Regions from separate parts of the Homo sapiens genome. Here all the other regions are linked to region 2. The links are contacts of gene promoters, found by promoter capture Hi-C in human tissues and cell types (Jung and others, 2019). All regions are on one chromosome and are shown on one strand. Each heading gives the region's core, a stretch centred on a gene start or on the middle of the fragment in contact. The rest is flanking DNA. Distances are from core to core; before and after follow the strand shown.

Evidence for each region. Contacts are between HindIII fragments. The study calls those that stand out against the background at their distance.
Region 1: a contact is called between a fragment that was not itself captured here and the fragment with the promoter of DACH1 in region 2, in 1 of the 25 tissues and cell types used here (dorsolateral prefrontal cortex).
Region 3: a fragment that was not itself captured here is called in contact with the fragment with the promoter of DACH1 in region 2 in 1 of the 25 tissues and cell types used here (dorsolateral prefrontal cortex).
Region 4: a fragment that was not itself captured here is called in contact with the fragment with the promoter of DACH1 in region 2 in 1 of the 25 tissues and cell types used here (spleen).

What each region holds. Positions count from the first base shown.
Region 1 is chr13:72,187,384-72,190,205 of GRCh38, reverse strand. No RefSeq gene overlaps it. Among named protein-coding and RNA genes, the nearest start is that of DACH1, 320 kb to the right of the region's middle. The HindIII fragment of the contact is 3,433 bases long and covers 1-2,822 here.
Region 2 is chr13:71,865,354-71,868,509 of GRCh38, reverse strand. DACH1 (dachshund family transcription factor 1) reads left to right here and starts at 1,306. Exons shown (of 11, transcript NM_080759.6): 1 at 1,306-2,588. The coding sequence starts at 1,741. The HindIII fragment of the contact is 6,446 bases long and covers 1-3,156 here.
Region 3 is chr13:71,504,517-71,507,645 of GRCh38, reverse strand. The region is part of intron 6 of DACH1 (dachshund family transcription factor 1); the gene reads left to right. Among named protein-coding and RNA genes, the nearest start is that of DACH1, 360 kb to the left of the region's middle. The HindIII fragment of the contact is 3,228 bases long and covers 1-2,938 here.
Region 4 is chr13:71,604,531-71,607,753 of GRCh38, reverse strand. All of the region lies in intron 3 of DACH1 (dachshund family transcription factor 1), which reads left to right. Among named protein-coding and RNA genes, the nearest start is that of DACH1, 260 kb to the left of the region's middle. The HindIII fragment of the contact is 3,324 bases long and covers 1-2,918 here.

The sequences.
Region 1 (2,822 bases), core at 193-2,692, 320 kb before region 2:
GTCAGAAAAAAAAAGCTGCCCTAGATTAAATACTACGAGAGGATGGACAGGTTTTATGATTCTTGTCACCATAGTGAGAGCCTGATTTCCCCAACACCCTTATACATGAATTCATGTTTGCATATGTCATTGAAGATCCCCATATTGTTTTTAGGGTCCCTCGATTTGCACTCAATACTTCTGACTTCAAAGTCAGAATTAATGCTGAGTTTAAACAATTTTAATAGAGCTATTATCATTTGTATATTATGGCTACATTAAATGATCCCATATGTTAATGTATACTACTCATTATTTTTAAGGAAAATATTTGGCAAAAATAAAGGAATGAAATAATTTATTTTATATTAACAGTTTGTATCTTTAGTTTACATTTGTTGCAATATGTATAAAAGCTGGAAAGGGAAGACTGACAAAAATCTCTGTGGGGACAGGAAATACAGAAGAACTTGTGACTTCAGTTTGTTTTGAGAGAGGGTCCATATCTTCTGTTTCAGTCTCAGTTTCCTGTTTTTGCTCCATTTAGCTATGTTCCTACATTTTTTTCCTCCACTCCATTTCTGGTGTCTCTTTCCCCAATTCGAGGGGAAGCCCTGGTTTTCCACCACCCATTCTGCTCCTGATTTTGAACAGGGCGTCTCATCTGCCTACAAATCTGAGTGAATTAACCATGGTCTGTTCCTCCCAGATCAGTGAGCCCCTCAATCTTTTTTTTTTTTTTTTTTGAGATAGGGTCTCACTGTGTTGCCCAGGCTGGAGTGCAGTGGCGTGATGATGGCTAACTTCAGCCTCAACCTCCTGGGCTCAAGCGATCCTCCCACCTCAGCCCCTGGAGTAGCAGGGACTGTAGGTACATGCCTCCAAACCCAGCTAATTTTTGGATTGTTTTTGTAGATTTGGGGTTTTAGCATGTTGGCCAGGCTGGTCTCGAACTCCTGTGTTCAAGCTATCCACCCACCTTGGCCTCCCAAAGTGCTGGGATTACAGTTATGAGCCACTGTGTTGGGCTAAGTCCCTCAATCTTAACTGCCTCATATTTCACTACGCTTCCATAACCTCTATGAACCTAGAGTTGTGATGACTGGCCCCTTTCTGGGGATGGCTTTCCCTGGTGGCTGACTCTGTAAGCTTTCTTTTCTCTTCCTTCTTTCCAAGAGTCTGTCCTTTCTCACATCCACAAGCCACATTTCTGAGAACTGACATTATTGAGGAAGTCGGGGAATCTCTGAATGGGAGAAAAATAATAAAATACAGACTTAAGACAGATATGTGAAAATCAGCTGAAAATAATTAGGATCTTTTACTCAGTGGAACAGGAGGACCAAAGAATTTGAGAAGTTTGGTGTGATCTTCAGAAGGCATGCAGAGTAAACACGTAGGGTTATAGAAATATTTAAGAAAAGGGTCAATTTGTCAAACTACAGGCAAGGGTAATGACTGTAGTGTTTGCAGTTATATTAGAAATGATTTCTTTACTGACATATATTTTTAATAAGGAATATTTTAAAGGTAACATTTTTAGATCTACTTTTACCTCTTATGATGCTTACTTTTCCTCCCTTACAATATCTACGATCGGGGAAATTCCATAAACAAAGCATGCTTTTTTCTTACTAGGTCAAAACGAAGTGTTACACTAGCCTCTTAATAAATGTCAATTACCGTCCCTTCTCCCTGAGCCTGGTATTATGCTAATAACATTCTCCTGAATATTCATAGACTCAAAAATGTTTGATCAGGAGAGGAAGTTAGAGATGCCCTCACCCGATTCTCTCTAATAATGATGAAGACACTGTGGCTCAGAGACTGGAGGTGGCTTGCCCAAGGTTGCCCAGCAAGTTAACAATACTGTCAAGACCAGGAGCGATGTTTTGGTGTAAAGAAGCAGCACAAATAAAGGCTCTGACTTAAGGAGATGACATTTTCCAGGAAGCAAGAAGAAATGTTGTTTCTAGGCCATAGAGTTAGGTAGGTGCCAGACCATGCAGGGTCTTAAAGGCCATAGCAGGGATTTAGAGAGTAATGAGAGACTTTAGATGTACAAAGATGGATGGTGACATTACACTGGCATTTTGAGAAAATGCATTTCTAAAATATTTTCATTTAGTAATAAGATTCTCTACTTCTCATATATCCTTACTCTCAATTTAGGATATAATGCTGCTTTCCAATCAGATTGCTTTTTACCCTCATCTTGATGACAATTTCTCCCCCTTATATGTCTTCCATAACTTCTGTGAGGCCCCCAGGCCAGAACACTCTGCTTCTAGGCTGTCTTCGGTGTAAATTTCAAGCAGAGGTAACCCAGCTTTTCTATTCCTCAGGTTTTTCTGTCTGTTCCCATTTTTTGATTGACTATACTTCATTTCAGAATTTTTGTTAGGCTTTACTAGTCCTTAGACCTTTTCCAGGGATGGATAAAACTTCTAATACCTTCATTAAATCAGACCTTGGAATCTCAACTGCCCCCTAAATATATTTCCCAAATAAAAAGGTGGAGGAAAACTTTGTCTATTAATGTGGAATTTTATTGTCGAATCTTTGCTTTCTGTAAACATTTGGCCTATTGCTATATCATGATATTTGCATATTTAACAACAAGGCATTTATAGCACTTATTTTTTTGTCTTATGTTCTAGACACTGTCTTCAACTGCTACCCCTTGAGGTCCAAGATTGTATTATTTTAAATATCACGTAATACTATGATTACAGAAGGCAGATAGCACTTACTGAATAGTTGCCATATAACAGACACTGTGCTATGAAATTTTCTCATCAGACTGAGTTGAGACAAACTGGGAGTGAGAGTATAGACTTTGA
Region 2 (3,156 bases), core at 57-2,556:
CTTGGAGACATGAGCAGCAAATAGATTTGACCCATATTCAAATGATATGTTAGTCAAAAATCCTTGAATAAATACTTCAGTGCAACAAGTTAGAAAAGAAAAGAAAAGGAAAGAGGAAGGAAAGGAGGAATAGAGTCAGTCTAAACTCAGCCTCATGTTGTTTTAAGCACAGCTACCCAAGTCTTTACAAGTCAACTAGTGAGCTTTGTTTTTGTTCTTCCCATTATTTACAAAACATATATTTACTGACAAATTGAAAAGGACTTTCCAAAACTACAGCAGCACTTTTCAAACATGAAAAAAAAAAAAAAAAAACTATTGTGTTGTCCAAAAAACACATTAGCAATTGGCTTTGGGTCTTAAAGGACATGAGGATAGTTGGTTACTGTGTAAGACAGGTGAATTAATTATAGAGTTTTGGGTAAGAAAACCCTTTTTCCACTTTCTAAATCTTCAAGGATACCTTATCTCCTTGATAGCTCTAGGTTTAACAGGTATTTCTGACTGGCTTTTGGGGAGACAGTGAAGTTATTCTAAATCATCCACATCAAGGCAAGCATTTCTTTCCACAACCTATTAGGAAATATGGAATTGAATACAGAGCTTTCCATTATTCTTAAGCGATTTCGGACTGACTTTCTTCTCACCACTTGAAAACTGTCCTGGAATTTTCACTATCTTTATATAAATAAATAATTTAGTAGAGAAATAAACAATCAGATGCAAAAGAACATTACGCTTTGCTTACATGTGAATTTTCCTCAAAATAATTTCTGAATAATCGTGAAGTGGGGGCTGTGTTTTCGTTTCTAGCTCATTGCCAAAACGCGTGGAGATGGATCCTAAATCCTGGAAGGAGAGAGCTCGGCGCGCTCAGGCTCCTCTTTAAGTTGGCGGGCGATTGTTTAGAAGCTTTGGAAAAAATTACCAGTCCCCGCGGACGAAATGGAATGTGAGACATGCAATCTAACGGTAGTAGTAGAAGAGAAGTAGATGATCTCCCTCTCCTTTTCCGATCGCCACTTCTGTGTCCCCGGCTTTTCCTCTCCGTCCCTCCCACAGTTTCTTTCCGTATCCTCCCCCTCCCCTCCTCCTTTCCTCGCACGCTCCCTCTCCAGTGTCTCGCGCTCTCGGAGTCTCTGCTCCGAGTTCCTGGTTGGATAATTTGGGTTAATACTAGTGAGTGAGGTTTTTGCGGCTTCAAAGGGTATTTCAAGTTTCCGGAGCTCCTCCCCTCTGCACCGTGTGACAACAACAACTCGTCCAGCCGGCAGCCTGCACTTTTCAGCTCATTTTCTCTCTGTCATTCCCCTCTCAATCTTTGATCAATGTACTTGCCAGGGAGAGCCCAAGTCCTTCAAACCTCCTCCTTTTCACCTTCATCCTTAACTTTGTGCTAGAGCGAGACCCACACAACAACAGCCGACCCTCCCCGCCCCACCCCCACCCCCAAACCAGCCCTCGATCCCAGCCCCCGGAGAGGACTCGCATTTCGACTTGCGGGACACTTTTGTGCGTTCCTCTCCAGAGCGCCTCTCGTGCTCGCCCCTCTTGCGCTCGCTCTTTATTACCTTCACCTCCTTTTCTCCCCCTTCTCTCCCTTTCTCCTTCTCGTTCTCTCCCGGAGTTGTTGTTGCCCCCCTCGCTCCTTCTCCCCCCTTTTTTCCCCTTCCCCTCCCGGGGGTGTGTGGCAACTTTTCCTCTCGCTTCTCCTCCGTCTGTTTCCCCTTATATGTGACCATGGCAGTGCCGGCGGCTTTGATCCCTCCGACCCAGCTGGTCCCCCCTCAACCCCCAATCTCCACGTCTGCTTCCTCCTCTGGCACCACCACCTCCACCTCTTCGGCGACTTCGTCTCCGGCTCCTTCCATCGGACCCCCGGCGTCCTCTGGGCCAACTCTGTTCCGCCCGGAGCCCATCGCTTCGGCGGCGGCGGCGGCGGCCACAGTCACCTCTACCGGCGGCGGCGGCGGCGGCGGCGGCAGCGGAGGCGGCGGCGGCAGCAGCGGCAACGGAGGCGGCGGTGGCGGCGGCGGCGGTGGCAGCAACTGCAACCCCAACCTGGCGGCCGCGAGCAACGGCAGCGGCGGCGGCGGCGGCGGCATCAGCGCTGGCGGCGGCGTCGCTTCCAGCACCCCCATCAACGCCAGCACCGGCAGCAGCAGCAGCAGCAGTAGCAGCAGCAGCAGCAGCAGCAGTAGTAGCAGCAGCAGCAGTAGCAGCAGCAGCTGCGGCCCCCTCCCCGGGAAACCCGTGTACTCAACCCCGTCCCCAGTGGAAAACACCCCTCAGAATAATGAGTGCAAAATGGTGGATCTGAGGGGGGCCAAAGTGGCTTCCTTCACGGTGGAGGGCTGCGAGCTGATCTGCCTGCCCCAGGCTTTCGACCTGTTCCTGAAGCACTTGGTGGGGGGCTTGCATACGGTCTACACCAAGCTGAAGCGGCTGGAGATCACGCCGGTGGTGTGCAATGTGGAACAAGTTCGCATCCTGAGGGGACTGGGCGCCATCCAGCCAGGAGTGAACCGCTGCAAACTCATCTCCAGGAAGGACTTCGAGACCCTCTACAATGACTGCACCAACGCAAGGTGAGTCGGGGGGGATAGCCCCCGCCGCCCGCGCCCCTTCCCACCAGCCTGCTCGCCTGCCCTCGCTCCTTTCCCGGCGCCGCTCGCTCTGCGCGCCCGCGAGCCGCGCGCCCCGGCGAGCGCGGCCCTCTCCTCTCCCTGCTCGGGGCTCGCCAGCCGCGCCCGACCCCCTGAGAAGTTGGCACCTCACCCTGCCCAGACCTCGCTCTTCGGCCCGGTCCTCCCCTTGCCCTCTGGGTCCCGGGGATGGGCTGCTGTGGGATGTGGGAAAGCCGAGCCTCGGGGCGGAGGGGACGAGAGGGAGGAGGACGGCGCCTTTGCTGGAGCCACAGCCCCCTGCCCCGGGCGCGCGGGCGCCTGGAGACCCCTCTCAGCGCTGCTGTCCGCGTTCGTGCGCTCCCCAGGACCTGGGTTCCACGGCCAGCCTCCCGGCACCGACAGGGCTGATCTGTGGCGCCGAGCGGTGTCCCGGGGGCGGGGGGAGGTCGTGACCTGCTCCGCAGGGCTCGGGGAGCGGGGAGACGCGCTCCGGGTGAGGGCCCCGCTGGGAAAGGCGAGGGAGCGGACC
Region 3 (3,129 bases), core at 75-2,574, 360 kb after region 2:
GTGACAGTTCCTCTGTCTTATCTTTGTTAGAGTATTTTCTATACAGTGTTGCATTTGGCATTCATCCATAAATATTTCTAGAGTGACTAGTTTCAAATTTGTCTAATTTTCCAGCTGAACTAATTGGCAAAATAAAATGTATTCATATTTCAAGGTTAATTGCATTTCATAAAAAGTTCCTGATTAAATTTATGATTAAATTTAACAATTGTAAAAATAGTTTTGTTAGTGAAGGAAATAACAACTTTCTTAAAAGTATCATGAGATTTTTGAAGTTATTGTTATAGGAGGCACTATATTAAAATTCTCTGTGGAGAATTTCTATGCTAAAAAACAAAGTTGGGGAATAGATTTTAGAATACATTATAAGATAAACAACAGAGAATACTATATTTATGAGGATTCCCAGCTTAAAGGAAGAAACACTAATATGAATGATCTCCTGTCACTACTGCATGGATAGATCGGGGATGTATAAGAATCTTAAGATGAGTAGGTTGCAAAAATTTTCTCCCATTTTGTAGGTTGCCTGTTCACTCTGATGGTAGTTTCTTTTGCTGTGCAGAAGCTCTTTAGTTTAATTAGATCCCATTTGTCAATTTTGTCTTTTGTTGCCATTGCTTTTGGTGTTTTAGACATGAAGTCCTTGCCCATGCCTATGTCCTGAATGGTAATGCCTAGGTTTTCTTCTAGGGTTTTTATGGTTTTAGGTCTAACGTTTAAGTCTTTAATCCATCTTGAATTCATTTTTGTATAAGGTGTAAGGAAGGGATCCAGTTTCAGCTTTCTACATATGGCTAGCCAGTTTTCCCAGCACCATTTATTAAATAGGGAATCCTTTCCCCATTGCTTGTTTTTCTCAGGTTTATCAAAGATCAGATAGTTGTAGATATGTGGCATTATTTCTGAGGGCTCTGTTCTGTTCCATTGATCAATATCTCTGTTTTGGTACCAGTACCATGCTGCTTTGGTTACTGTAGCCTTGTAGTATAGTTTGAAGTCAGGTAGTGTGATGCCTCCAGCTTTGTTCTTTTGGCTTAGGATTGACTTGGCGATGCGGGCTCTTTTTTGGTTCCATATGAACTTGGAACCAACCCAAATGTCCAACAATGATAGACTGGATTAAGAAAGTGTGGCACATATATACCATGGAATACTATGCAGCCATAAAAAATGATGAGTTCATGTCCTTTGTAGGGACATGGATGAAATTGGAAATCATCATTCTCAGTAAACTATCGCAAGAACAAAAAACCAAACACCGCATATTCTCACTCATAGGTGGGAATTGAACAATGAGATCACATGGACACAGGAAGGGGAATATCACACTCTGGGGACTGTTGTGGGGCGGGGGGAGGGGGGAGGGATAGCACCGGGAGATATACCTAATGCTAGATGACGAGTTAGTGGGTTCAGCACACCAGCATGGCACATGTATACATATGTAACTAACCTGCACAATGTGCACATGTACCCTAAAACTTAAAGTATAATAAAAAAAAAAAGAATCTTAAGAGCTTTATGTGAGTTTTGAAAATGCATGTAAATGTAATATTTTTATTTATTTCATTTTAGTTGTATTTATTTAAATTTTTCTAATGTAGAATAACATTAAATAACAGTATAGTTTTTAATCTATATCAAGAGGATGAAGGAACAAAATCTGCATGTTTTGTTTGCTTATTCAAATGTGAAATGCTTTCTAATCAAGTTGAATATTTTAATTATTTTTAAATTTTTAGTCAATATTAAGTCATTTATGGAAATTGCCTTTCAGTCTGTATGCCACTTATAATTTGTTAATCTTAGGTATATAGGCTAAAGTGGAAAGTACTAGAATATAGAAAGTAATAGTAAAACTTTCAGTTTCTACCTGGTTTTTTCATTCTTATGAAATCTTAGTATATGAGAAGGAATAAGTAATGAAAGATAACTTATTATCTAACAAAATAAACTTATTTATTTGCCTAAAGCTTCTGGTGATATTTAAGGTAAATTAATAATTGAAACAGAACAGAACAGTTATTGGATTTACTAAATATGGAAGAGTTCTACATATGATATACCTATATGTACCTATGTACTTATGTAACTAAGTGTATGTGTGGTGTGCAATCATTTAGGTATACACACACAAACACACACACACACAGAATCTGCTTTACTTTGAAATTGCTTCAACAGTAGACTTATATGGTTATTTTATCTATAGTAATATAATGTATCTCAAGCCTTCTAAATATACTATTAAGAAAATTTTTAGGCTGGGCGCAGTGGCTTACGCCTGTAATCCCAGTACTTTGGGAGGCCGAGGTGGGTGGATCATGAGGCCAGGAGATTGAGACCATCCTGGACGACATGAGGAAACCCTGTCTCTACTAAAATACAAAAAAGTAGCCGGGCGTGGTGGCACACACCTGTAATTCCAGCTACTTGGGACACTGAGGCTGAGGAATCACCTGAACTTCGGAGCCGGACGTTGCAGTGAACCGAGATCTTGCCACTGCACTCCAGCCTGGCGACAGAGTAAGACTCCAGAAAGAAAGAAAGAAGGAAGGAAGGAAGGAAGGAGATATCTAATTAACAAATATATGTGTTTCTAAATTTGCGATTTCTCAGTAAGTTAAAACTGAGTTAAGTGTACACAAATAGTCGAAGAGATTAATTGATTTCATTGTGAAATATTTTTAAATAATGTATTGATTCATCCTACATGTAAAAGCCAGGCACCATTCAAGGTATAGGAGACACAACAGCTCACAGTACAGAGAGACATCTTGTTCTTAAGGAATTTGTATTGTAATTGAAGAAGACAAACAATAAGGAAATATATAGAAAAATATCAAGTAGTAATAATGGTAGCTTGATATACATTGAACATGCCATCGAAATAAAAAGTCACTGGTTACATAAGAATGAAATGGTTCTATATTCTCATGATACATCCATGATTAGGAAGAGTTGCCATTTCTGTAAGATCATGACCAACCTTCTCCTGAACATTCTGAGCTACAACTTGATGATCAGGTCTGCAAGACTTCACTCAAATCTGGCCTTATTACATCTCAAATTCCATTCTAACCTCTCTCCCCTTAGCGATCTCATCCACGCTGCCTTTCCTCAGTT
Region 4 (3,223 bases), core at 7-2,506, 260 kb after region 2:
AAACAGGAACATGTGTGCTGTTGCTCATGATAATCTTTGTATATGCTCAGTGAAATAAGTTTACCATAACTTAGTAGTCACTTTCATCCAGAGAATTTTTCCTGGTGGTATTAAAACACAAAGACTACTATCACACTGGTCTTTAAGGGGAAACAATAAATAAAACACAAATAAACAAGCTCCTAAGAGACAATTCTTATTCACATTTGCTGATGATTAGAGGTACACTTGGCTTTGAAAGTCATGCCCATTTAACACAGTATTTTTAAAAGACTTACTTTTTTCCATGTAACAGCGATATCAGAAATGCATTTCCTTGAGTTACTTTGAAAAAAAATTTTAGAATTGTTACATGGCTTAGTACCTGTACAATCTAACTGTCTTTATTGAGATCATAGCATATAAGGTAGAATGTTTTATACAAAACAATAATAAGCCTGTATACATGAATTTAAAACAGGAATTTTTAAATATCAAATAGAAGAAATGCAACGTAAGGATTAAATTATCATATTGTAAAAAGTTATGCAGGTGAACACCTTGTTATTACAAATATAAAATGTAGCCTGAATAAATCTATGAAAAGCTCTTTTTTAAAGTGCAATTATATCCTGTAATGTGTAGTTTTTCCTGTCCCTTATGTTTATTTTAATTTTAATATGAAAGAAATGATCATCCCATTTTCTTTGAAAGTGGAATAAAGGTAAAACCACAAACCTTTTGAAAGAATTCCTTTGTTCCCAATCACATGAGTGTTGTTGGAACAAAATTTTGCCACCTGCCAGAGGCTTTAAAAACTAAATCAAAAGGCTCACTACTTCAAAATGCTCAAACTAAAGGTAGGCTTCTGGATGAAAATGTAATGACTAGATCATTCTCATCATACATTTATTACAGTGCAGCAGAATTGATGGATCTTTTGCTACCTTTCACTAGAGAATAATTCATAAATGAAAATGAAAATATTTAAATCATGAATAGCTATTTTATTCCCTCATTCTACCTGTTAGGGATCTAACATTTAGGGTGTCTCACTATGTTCATATTAAAACTTCCCAAAAGAAATAGAGAGGAAAAAGGTGAAGTATTTCTCACACTAGTTAAAACAATTCAGTGTTGGCATGCTTCATTAACTGTTTGCATACAAGAGAAAAGTGCTTTCTGATGAAGTGGAAAACCAACTTGGGACCAATTTTCCACAACATAAATTCAACACTCATTCTACCTCCTGATACCTTTGTATTCAAACTATCAGGAAGATTTTTTATATCTGTCATACCAGTAATCATTTAATACTTCTATTTTAGATTCTGAAATCCTTGAAAATAGTTCTATTGTAGATTCTTTATTTCCTTAGAATAATTTTAAGATGAACATCTACTAATATTTTTTCATAAATGTGAATTCATTGAACTGACAGTTATCAAACTGATTTAGAAAGAATTCTTATCATGTAAGAAACATAATAAACAGGGTGTTAAAATGGACAGCTTAAACAAAATATTGTTTACATTCAATTTTATTCTGTTTCTCCTCTCTATATAAAATATTTGTAAATAGATGTAGATGTGTGTATACATTCAATATATAGTTAAGCAGCATAATGAAGGTGATGTATTAAACATTACTGCAAGTCTAGAATATCATTTATTACAGTACTAGCAGAAAAATAGTACTCTAGTAGATTAGCAGAAAAAGTGAGTGCCAATTTGAAACACCATTGTTGATCACTGTATCACAACAGTGTAGCTTCAGTGAGATAGGTGAGTCACTCTGCCAGTTCAACACATGATAGCTGCAAAGTGCCACCAAACACAATGAAGTCATCCACAGTCCCTACTGAGTCTAAGTTATTATTCAGTTTATTACATAGCGTTTTGTCTTCATCAGCAATGTTCAACAATCACTTTCAATTACACGGGGTGAGAATCTGGGAGACTGTCTTCACTTCTCTGTGGTTGTAAATTCATATTTTCTAGACTCTGCATGGGGAAAGAAAAAGGACATTATAATATTTTTATTTTCATAATAAAAGTAAGACTTATTGAAGAGGAAGAATCTTTCATTTTTCACAATATCATAAAATATTTCTCTTTTAATGAATTGCTGTGAGCCAATGTTTTTGTTGAAAACATTCTTTGATAAAAGCTTAAAAATGATATAAGCATACATGTTTTATTATATGAAAAGTAATCAATTATAAATATTCACACTGTGAAGCATTATTTTATCACATTTAGTATATTCATTCATTATGTTATTTAAATTTTATTTCATTAAAACTTGGTATATTATTCACACTAAACCAAGTGATCTTATTGTGATTTCATAAATAGAAGTTTGTCATACTCGAACATATCTTTTGATATTAAAAATAACATCATGTTATTTCATTTGTTTCTTTCAAATATAATATCATATTACAATACATTAGTTGTATCGTTCAAGCTAAGAATATATTCCCGATATGAAGAATATGTTGAGTAGTGTAAGTTTAATATTTAAAAAATGTAATTATTGATTCAGTGAACTAAATATATTAAACATGTAAAACATTAGATTCTTTTAGTATACAGGCATAGTCATCTTTATGGATTTTTCCTGAAATGTTTTATGTAAATCAAGAGTTTTATCTAATCAAGCTTTAAGGGAATCCACTACTTAGAAAATATTTTAATATAATGCATTTTCTTAAAGTGAACTGCATCTATAGTGATTTTGAAATTCAAGCCATTTTGCATAAATATTGCTTATGCATGTATACATTTATAGACCACTTTGTCAATGGGGGAATAAAAACAACTGAGACCAAGAGAAGTGTTTCGGTTTACATGTAAACTAAATGAGACCAAAGGAGGTGTTTTAGTTCCCTGTTTGCTATTTTGATTAAATTACTGATATGCAAGAGAGATCCTTTGAAAGTCCCTTTGTTTTGATTTATTAGCAGAATATGATGCTAGAGCTGATAAGATAATGCTTTTGATGCAGGAGGAGATAAATGAGAAATTGCTCCATTGCCATGTGACACCTGGGTTCTCTAAGGTGTCTAGTTTTACTCTGTTCATCTATTGGCTGAGATAACTTCCATTTAGATACTGAGAGTTGAGCTCAGTTAAAATACGTTTTTATATTTTTGTTTCAGTTATGTCACCTTCATTAGTTTTAATTCCTAAAAAGACCATATTATTGGAAGCTTATAAAGCCGTAATTTCTACCTTGGAAA